Regions from separate parts of the Homo sapiens genome. Here region 2 is linked to region 1. The links are contacts of gene promoters, found by promoter capture Hi-C in blood cells and fetal thymus (Javierre and others, 2016). All regions are on one chromosome and are shown on one strand. The core of a region is centred on a gene start or on the middle of the fragment in contact, and the rest is flanking DNA. Distances in the headings are between cores, read along the strand shown.

Region 1 (4,214 bases), core at 1-2,500:
AAATGACCAACTCCAGACTCCGGGTCTCAGCTTCCCTCGTACGACACCAGGCATTATTGATGGGGGCACAAGACCCTCCAAAAACCACGATTACCAAACTTCTGTGTCCAAGGAGAATCATGCCCTTCCAGGTTCCTGAGAGACCAGACTTCAGATTCCCGGGAGAATGCCAGGGGTCTCGCCTTCGCCAACCCCTACCCCAAGTCACTTTAGGTGGAAGCGTTTGGGGCTGATGCTCCGGAAGCTGAACCAGGAGGAGCTAATAGCTTCAGGACCCTGTGATGTCCCCATCGCCACCAACAGGTGGGATCCTCCTGAAAACCAGACGATTTGCGGATCCTGTTGCTCCCAATAACAGGCAACTTTCAGAGTACGGTGACGGGGCTCCTGGAGCCCTGTCACCAGAAACGGGAAATAAGGCGTGGGGGGCGAGGCTTTCGTGTCCCTTGAGAGGCTGGTGGCTTTGGGGTCCGGCAGAGGCGGGTGGGGGTCCTGCGGCTTTGACGGAGGTCGCGCCCCCAGGTCGCCGAGGAGCGGCCCCCCACCCGCCGCGGTCGCGACCCGTCAGCCCAGATCTTGCAAGGAGCCCGCGACTCCTCCCTCGCGGCCCGGCCCGCGCTCACCGCCTTCTCCAGGTGGCTGCGCGCCTGCTCGCTGTTCTTGGTGTGGTGATAGAGAACGGAGCCCAGCTGCAGGTGTGTACGGGCCTCGATGCGCTGCGGCGGCTTGAAGGGGAACACGGCCTGCAGGCAGTGCACGCACAGGCGGATTTTGGGCGGGCTGGAAGTGCGGAAGTGCTCAGCGAAGCCCAGAAGCGCCAGGTACCACGAGTCGGCCGCCTCGGCCTGCGCAGCCTGGGCCGCCGCCGCCTGGGCCGCTGCCGCCGCCTGAGCCGCCATTTTGGCCTCCACAACAACAAGCCGCCGCCACAGGGAGGCGGAAGCAGGCGCGCGAGACGGGGCCGGGCTCTCCTCGCGGCTTCCGCGAGATCTGCCGCCCAAAGCATCCTGGAACATGTAGTTTGTATTTGGGATGACTGCCGCTCCGGGAAGGTGTAAAAGGGCGACGCCGTTTGGTTATCGTGACTGGGACTTAGGCATCGCTGATAGGCTGAGGCTTCCGTTTCTGGAGGTTAAAAAAAAAAAAACCCAGTCGTTCACGCAGTAATAGGGCGAGTCTGACCGAGGCGGACTACATCTCCCATCAGGCGATGCACACTATAACAGGGCCCCTTAAGGGGCGCCGGAGCATTGTGGGATTGGATGAGTCTCAAGATGGACAACCGGGATGTTGCAGGTAACAGCCCCCGCCTCCTCTCAGGCGGCCGCCTGGGTCCCTGGGGCTAGGTGTCTCCCCTGACTCCTCGGGTCCGTCCTGCTGCGACCCGTGGATCCCTCGCTTCAGCCCCGGGGCAGCCCACAGCGTCGGCTTCTGCACCTCTTGGTTTCTCGAGACCCCAGACCCAGGTTGCTGGCCGCCCCCGCTTGGTTTGCTGAGGACGCACGGATCTCCGTAGAGGCCGCCACCCGGCTCGGCCCTGCGTCCCGTTTCCGAAACAACCGCCTTCAGGGCTGCTCCAACCTCCGTTCCCCAATACGGCGACAACCTTGGGCTGTCCCTGCACCCCTCTTTTCGTCGCAGCTGGCCTCTGGCCTGTGTCCCGCTTTCTGGAAAAGCTGCTTTTCCGAAGTGCTTTGAGGCTCCCTTGACACACTTTCCCGCGTCTTTTGACCCTCACTTTGCTGCAAGCCTTGGCCTTTCTGCTTCCCCAGAATAGAATGCATTTACCCATCAGCAGATACTTAGGGCGTGCTCACTGTGTGCCAAGCAGTGTGCTGGGCGCTACGCATGCAGCGGTGACCGAAACAGGGCCCTGCCTTCCTGGAGGTTGCTTTCTACTGGGGTGTCAGTGCATTAATGAGAAAATATTTACAAAAACTTACGTATGATGTGAGGTTACGTATGATATGATCAGAGTGGAGGCTTCTGATATTGGGTAGTCAGGAAAGACCTTTTCTTTCTTTCTTTCTTTTTTTTTTTTTTTTTTTTTTTGAGACAGGGTCTCACTTTGTCGCCCAGGCTGTAGTGCAGTGGCTCACTGTGGCTCCCTGGGTTCAGGTGATCCTCCCACCTCAGCCTCCCTAGTAGCTGAGACCACAGATGCGCGCCACCACACAGCGAATTTGTGTGTTTTTTGTGTTGCCACGTTTCCCATGCAGGTCTGGAATTCCTAGGCTCAAGCGATCCTCCCATCTCAGCCTCTTAAAGTGCTGGGGTTACGTAAAGGTGTGAGCCACCACACCTGGCCCAGGGAAAGGCCTTTTCAAGCAGAGGACATTTGAGTTAAGACAATGAATGCCAGCTATGGGAATCCCTGGAGGGTGGAGCCTTCCACACAGAGGGGGGCCAGTAAATGCAGAGGCCCTGGTAGGATGGGCTTGTCCTTTTGAAGAATGTCAAGGATGAAGCAGAAGGGAGGGGAACCATCTGGCGGGGCCTTGAAAATGGCCTTTTAGAATTCTTTTTTTCTTTTTGTTGAAGCGGAGTTTCGCTCTGTCGCCCAGGCTGGAGTGCAGTGGCACGATGTCGGCTGACTGCAACCTCTACCTCCCGGGTTCAAGCCATTCTTCTGCCTCAGCCTCCTGAGTAGCTGGGATTACAGGCGCCGGCCACCGCACCTGGCCAGTGTTTTTGTGTATTTTTAGTAGAGACGGGGTATCACCATGTTGGCCAGGCTGGTCTCGATCTCCTGACCTCAAGTGATCTGCCTGCTTCAGCCTCCCAGGTGCTGGGATTACAGGTGTGAGTCACCATGCCCGGCTCAGACTTTTAAAATTTGGATTTTATTCTGAGTCCCATGGGGAACCTCTGAGGTGTCTTCCCTGTCTCCATACTATCACCCTAGTCTGAAGACATCATTGTCTGTTGCTTGGAGCCAGTGAGCCTCCCTGGTCTTGTTGCCTGTGGATTCTCTGGCCAGAATGATTACCTAGTAGCCAGGATGAAAATAAAACGACCCTGTGGATATTGGCTAGGTGTGGTGATCCATGCCTAAAATCTCAGCATTTTGGGAGGCTTAAATGGGAGGCTCCCTTGAGGACAGGAGTTCAAGATTAGCCTGGGGAACATAGCAAGAACCTGTCTCTACAAAAAATAAAAGAAAATAGCTAGGCCTGGTAGAGTGTGCCTGTAGTCCTAGCCACTCGGGTGGCTGAGGTGGGAGAATCTCTAGAGCCCAGGAGTTTGAGGATGCAGTGAGCTACGATCATGCAACTGCACTCCTGCCTGGGCAACTCAGCGAGACCCTGTCTCAAAAAAACAAAACAAAACAAAAAAAACGGCTGGGTGTGGTGGCTCACGCCTGTAATCCCAGCACTTTGGGAGGCTGAGGTGGGTGGATCACTTGAGGTCAGGAATTCGAGACCAGCCTGGCCAACATGGTGAAGCCCCATCTCTACTAAAAATATGAAAAAATTAGCCAGGCATGGCGGCAGATGCCTGTAGTCCCAGATACTCGGGAGGCTGAGGCAGGAGAATCGCTGGAACTCTGGAGGTGGAGATTGCAGTGAGCCAAGATCGCGCCATTGCACTCCAGCCTGGGGGAAAAGAGCAATACTTCATCTCAAAAAAAAAAAAAAAAAAAAAGAAGGCTGGGTTCGGTGGCTCACGCCTGTAATTCCAGCGCTTTGAGAGGCGTAAATTGGAGGTTCCCTTGAGGACGGGAGTTCGAGACCAGCCTGGACAACATGGCGAAATCCTAACTGTACTAAAAATATAAAAATTAGCCAGGTGTGGTGGCTCACGCCTGTAATCCCAGCTACTCAGGAGGCTGAGGCAGGAGAATCGCTTGAACCTGGGAGGTGGAGGTTGCAATGAGCCGAGGTGGTGCCACTGCATTCCATCTTGGCTGACAGAGTAACAGTTCGCCTCAAAAAAAAAAAAAAAAAAAAGCCACTGGGGCACGGTGCCTCATGCCTGTAAATCCCAGCACTTTGGGAGGCCAAGGTGGAAAGAATGTTTGAGACCAGCCTGGGCACTATAGCAAGACCTCATCTCTATGAAAAAATTTAAAAATTAGCCAAGTGAGGTGGTGCATGCCTGTAATCCAAGCTATTTGGGAGGCTGAGGTGGGAGGATTGCTTGAGCCGGGGAGGCGGAGGCTGCAGTGAGCTGAGATCACACCACTGCACTCCAGCCTGAGAAACAGAGCCAGA
Region 2 (4,214 bases), core at 1,047-3,546, 260 kb after region 1:
GGAAGAAAACATAAGAAATTATCAACAGCAGGTGCATCTGAGGAGGAACGGGGTACAGGCTGGGGAAGACCTGACTGATTTCTACTATGTGACCTTTTGTACTGTTTGATTTTTTCTTTTTAACTATATAATAGGCCGGGTGTGGTGGCTCACGCCTGTAATCCCAGCATCTTGGGAGGCTGAGGCGAGCAGATCACTTGGGGTCAGGAGTGCGAGACCAGCCTAGCCAACATGGTGAAACCCCGTTTCTATTAAAAATACAAAAATTAGCTGGGTGTGGTGGCACATGCCTGTAATCCCAGCTACTCAGGAGGCTGAGGTAGGAGAACTGCATGAACCCAGGAGGCAGAGGTTGCCGTGAGCCGAGATCACACCACTGCACTCCAGCCTGGGCAACAGAGCAAGACTCCGTCTCAAAAAAAACCCAAAAACTATATACTCAATGATCTTGCCAAAGTTTATACACATGTACATATATAACACACACGAAATATGTATATATAAAATATGTATATAAACATATGAATATTATAGGTACATGTACATATGTGTACAACACACACACATATACATACATATATACATACATGCCCATATATGTTTTAAATGACTCCTATTGAAGTTGGACAGAAAACCCAAATGGCTTCAGTTTCCACAGGAGAAGCTGAAGGTGACATGACCCTCTGAAACATTCTGGTACCGTCTTTGCAGGGAGCGGTGGGAGGGGGTAAGAAACGCTCCAGGAGCCTTACAGGAAATGGCACGTTATTGCTTTTCAACAACAAAGCCACTGTCCTCCTTCTATGCTGCATGCTTGCAAATCAGACTCAAGGGAACTAAAAAATTCCAGAAGAATCATTCCTAGCACCACCCAGGCTCGTTTTGCAGGTTAGCTTTAAACAGCTGAAACATTAGTTTGCCTCACTCTAAAGAGTGTTTCCTTACTCTTTATCGGCTTCAAGGGCCCAGGGAGTGTCGGAGAGGGGTCCCGGGTCTGCAAGAGCTGGGAGCCCCGGCCCCGGCAACCCCCTCTCCGGCATCCTGCAGGAGGCACCCAAGATGATGAGCCCCCCTCCTCCGGCAGCGTCTCCACCGCCAGCCTGCCCCAGGACTCCGAGACACACGCTTGGCAGAGGGGCCGTCCCTTCCAGCTAAGCCTTTCCGGACCCAGTCAAAGTCACGACTCCTGCCAATCCCTCTGAGATAAACATAACAGATGGGCCCAAACGCGGTGGGTCCACAGCAGAGGGTCAGCGATGCCCAGGGTAGAATAGGCTCTGCCTCTAGCATTCAAGTGGTTTAGGTCTGTGGCTGGTAAAATGGAGATGATTCCGGTTTGGTCTGACAGATGGGATTATTCTAAGGTCCGGAAATCACTTTATAGACTGTCAAGCACTGTTAGAAATGAACACTGGGGTAAGCTTTTGTTTGGGGAGGGGAGGGTGCAGCGATCCTGAGATACCAAGGCTTGGGGGACTATTGGAGGACCTGGGGGATTCGGGGGGATTATTACAGAGGGTGTGCGAACACAGGTGCACGTGGAAGAAAGCCCAAGGTGGGAGAGAGAAAAGGGGGAGACAGAGGTGTGGGGCTGCCAGGGCAGAGGGCAGGTGCCAGGGGGAAGGTCCCTGAGAAGAGAGACACAGGTTGCTGGGGGAGTGGGCACGAGAGTAGCGAGCAGATACCTGGATATGAGGAAAGGCAGTGGGGGACGGGACTAGGTCCAGGTGTGAGTTGCGAGGCCATGAGTTAGGAGTCACAGGCTCAGGTGTGGGTGTGGGGGTGTCATCGACAAGGACAGACTCAGGTGATGTGGGGGGTGTTCGTGAGTGGGGGCGGGTGTTCGTGAGTGGGGGCGCGGTGTCAGGTGTGTGAGGGGGATGTCAGACCCAGCTGTGCGGGGCGCCGGGGACAAGGCCCCAGGGGTGTGGGAGATGTCAGCAAGGACAGTCTAAAGTGTATGGGGGATGTCAACGAAAAGGGACGTGGTGTCAGGCGTGCGTGGACTGCGGGTGACGGGCTCAAACCTGGATGCAGTAGCCCCCAGGGGGCAGTAGACGTGGAGTGTGGGGTTGGGGGGGGTCTTTAACCTCTTCCTGCCCTCGCGACGCTACTGTCATGCCCCGCCTCATCCGCCCCTCGCCCCGGGATCCATGACAGGACCCGTGCCTCACCTCAGTTCAGCCCGACAGGCGCGGGCCGCTGACGCTTGGGCCCCCCCGGCGCCCCCCGCGCCCCCTCACCGGCCCGGACGCGTCGCCGCCGCCGCTACCTCCAGCCGCCACGGCCCCGCCTCGCGCACCCCCAGAGCGCGCCACGGGAGGGGTCCACGCCACGCCCCGATTGGCTGCTCCCTGGCCAGTCAGCGCTGGAAGCGACAGTGATTGGCGAGTATGAAGCAGATGGGCAGCCCCTAAAGCCAATCGCTGATTGGCAGAGGTGGGGCTATTGGGAGAGGCCTGGGGTGCCTGAGTGGTCCCTCAGGGTGCTAGGCGCTGGGAGGCGAGGGCCTGGAGGCAGGCGAGGATTGGAATCTTGGCAGAAAACAGGCAGAACTGTCGGCCAATCGCTGGGGGCCAGGGGCGGGGCTACGAAGAAACTGGCGCTACCGGTGGGGCAGAGGCGAGAGGAACGGAGGGCGTAGCTTGGGGGGAGACCGGGATTGGCCGCAAAGCCGAAGACTGGCAGGCCCCGCGGCCAGTCGCAGCGGCCGTGGGCGGTACGCCCCCAGGGGAGGGCTGGAGCGTTCAAGGTGCAGTCCGACCCGGAGCGCGGCAACCCGACGTGGCCTCGGACGCCTGGCGCAGGGTCCCCTGAGGCTCTCGTGTAGAGCCCGCCCTCTGGCCACCTAGCACAGAAGCGGATGTGAACTTGGACCATCAAGGCTGAAGGACTCCTGGATAATTCTCTATCCCCTTACTCCCCACTAATCCCCTGCAGACGACACGGAGAGGGCAGATTCGCTGGAGGTCACTCTGAACTGCCCTCTCCATCTCGAGGTGGTGTGAAGACATGGAAATAAGGGGCGGAATCCTACTGAAACGCGCTGCGTGGTTTTCTGAGTGTCTGACCTCTCTGCGTCCCAGCTTTCCCCGCCACGGTATCCAGTGACATCCCTGTTGGGCCTTCTCCCTGCCAAGTCTTTTTTTGAATTAACTGAATCTTAACCACAATCCCATGAGGTCAGAGAGACCACTGGCTCCTTTTACAGAAACCAGAGCACAGAGAGGTCAAGCTCCTTGCCCAAGGTTACACAGCATTCTCTGGTTGCTAAACCAGAGAATGAATCTAGAGCAGCCTGCTTTTTGGAAAGAGTGTGTCAGAGAAGAGCCACTGGGGGCCTCAGAGACCTGGGTTTGAATCCTTGTCCAATCACTGGCCCACCACACAACCTTGGGCAAAAGCCCTTGTGAGCCTCAGCTGTTTCATTTGGAAAAGAGGGGGGAAAATGATTCCTATGCCTTGATCTTTCCTCTCTGGGGTTGCTTCCCTGGGAAAATTTACAACTCAGCTCTCATTTTAATTATCTGGTGAAAGCATTTGACCCTGAGCAGGTCATGTGCGGCCTGTGAGCCTCAGCTCCTCTGTGAAGTGCAGAAAAATGCCGGCAGTTTAGGGAGACACCTGCCATCCCAGGCATGGCTGTGTCATCGGCACCTCCCCCGAAGCCACTCTGTTCTATGACTCACCCTTCATCTTCAGGATGGAGAGGGCTACAAATGTTTCCAGATACCAGCTCTTATTTCCTCTAGGTGCTGGCCAGGGTTGGTGGAGATCAAGTTCAGAACCAGGGAATCCTGGGAGGGAGCAAGGCTGAAACCAACCTTAGAAAGGGCTCACATTTCAGGGCTGCACAAGCCCCTGCTAAGTGTGTGATCCACAAGTTTCAAATGGGGAGGATGTGACGGGAAATCACTAGCCCAAGGCCATCATCAAACTCCTGATATTCTCACGATATGCCTACCTGGACCTCCTCTCCCATACCTCCCACCTGTGGTTTGCTTCCTGGCAACTTCCAGGATCTGGCCTCCATTCTGCCCTCCAGAGAAGAGGGGGAAGCTGAGGTCAGTTGAACATCAATTGGGTGCCAGGTCCCCACTGGGCTTTCTCCAATACCATCTCCCCACCTCACTTCCAGGTGGACGTGACAGTGCCCACTTAGCAGATAAGAAAACTGAGCCTATGGTGGAGAATATTCCTTGGTGGAAGGACCC

Evidence for each region. Contacts are between HindIII fragments. The CHiCAGO score rates a contact against its expected background, and 5 or more counts as called.
Region 2: a contact is called between the fragment with the promoter of SLC25A42 here and the fragment with the promoter of SUGP1 in region 1, in 1 of 17 cell types (M1 macrophages). The highest score is 5.4, in M1 macrophages.

The regions. Positions count from the first base shown.
Region 1 is chr19:19,317,545-19,321,758 of GRCh38, reverse strand. SUGP1 (SURP and G-patch domain containing 1) reads left to right here and starts at 1,250. Exons shown (of 14, transcript NM_172231.4): 1 at 1,250-1,296. The coding sequence starts at 1,263. MAU2 (MAU2 sister chromatid cohesion factor) reads right to left here and starts at 930. Exons shown (of 19, transcript NM_015329.4): 1 at 624-930. The coding sequence starts at 899. RefSeq lists a silencer at 550-771 and enhancers at 143-1,114, 823-1,312, 1,333-1,382. The HindIII fragment of the contact is 18,112 bases long and covers 1-4,214 here.
Region 2 is chr19:19,062,076-19,066,289 of GRCh38, reverse strand. It overlaps SLC25A42 (solute carrier family 25 member 42), which reads right to left and starts at 2,296. Exons shown (of 8, transcript NM_178526.5): 1 at 2,175-2,296. LOC124904655 (a long non-coding RNA gene) reads left to right here and starts at 2,765. Exons shown (of 3, transcript XR_007067160.1): 1 at 2,765-3,100; 2 at 4,139-4,214. RefSeq lists silencers at 2,125-2,394, 2,655-2,824. The HindIII fragment of the contact is 7,903 bases long and covers 1,424-4,214 here.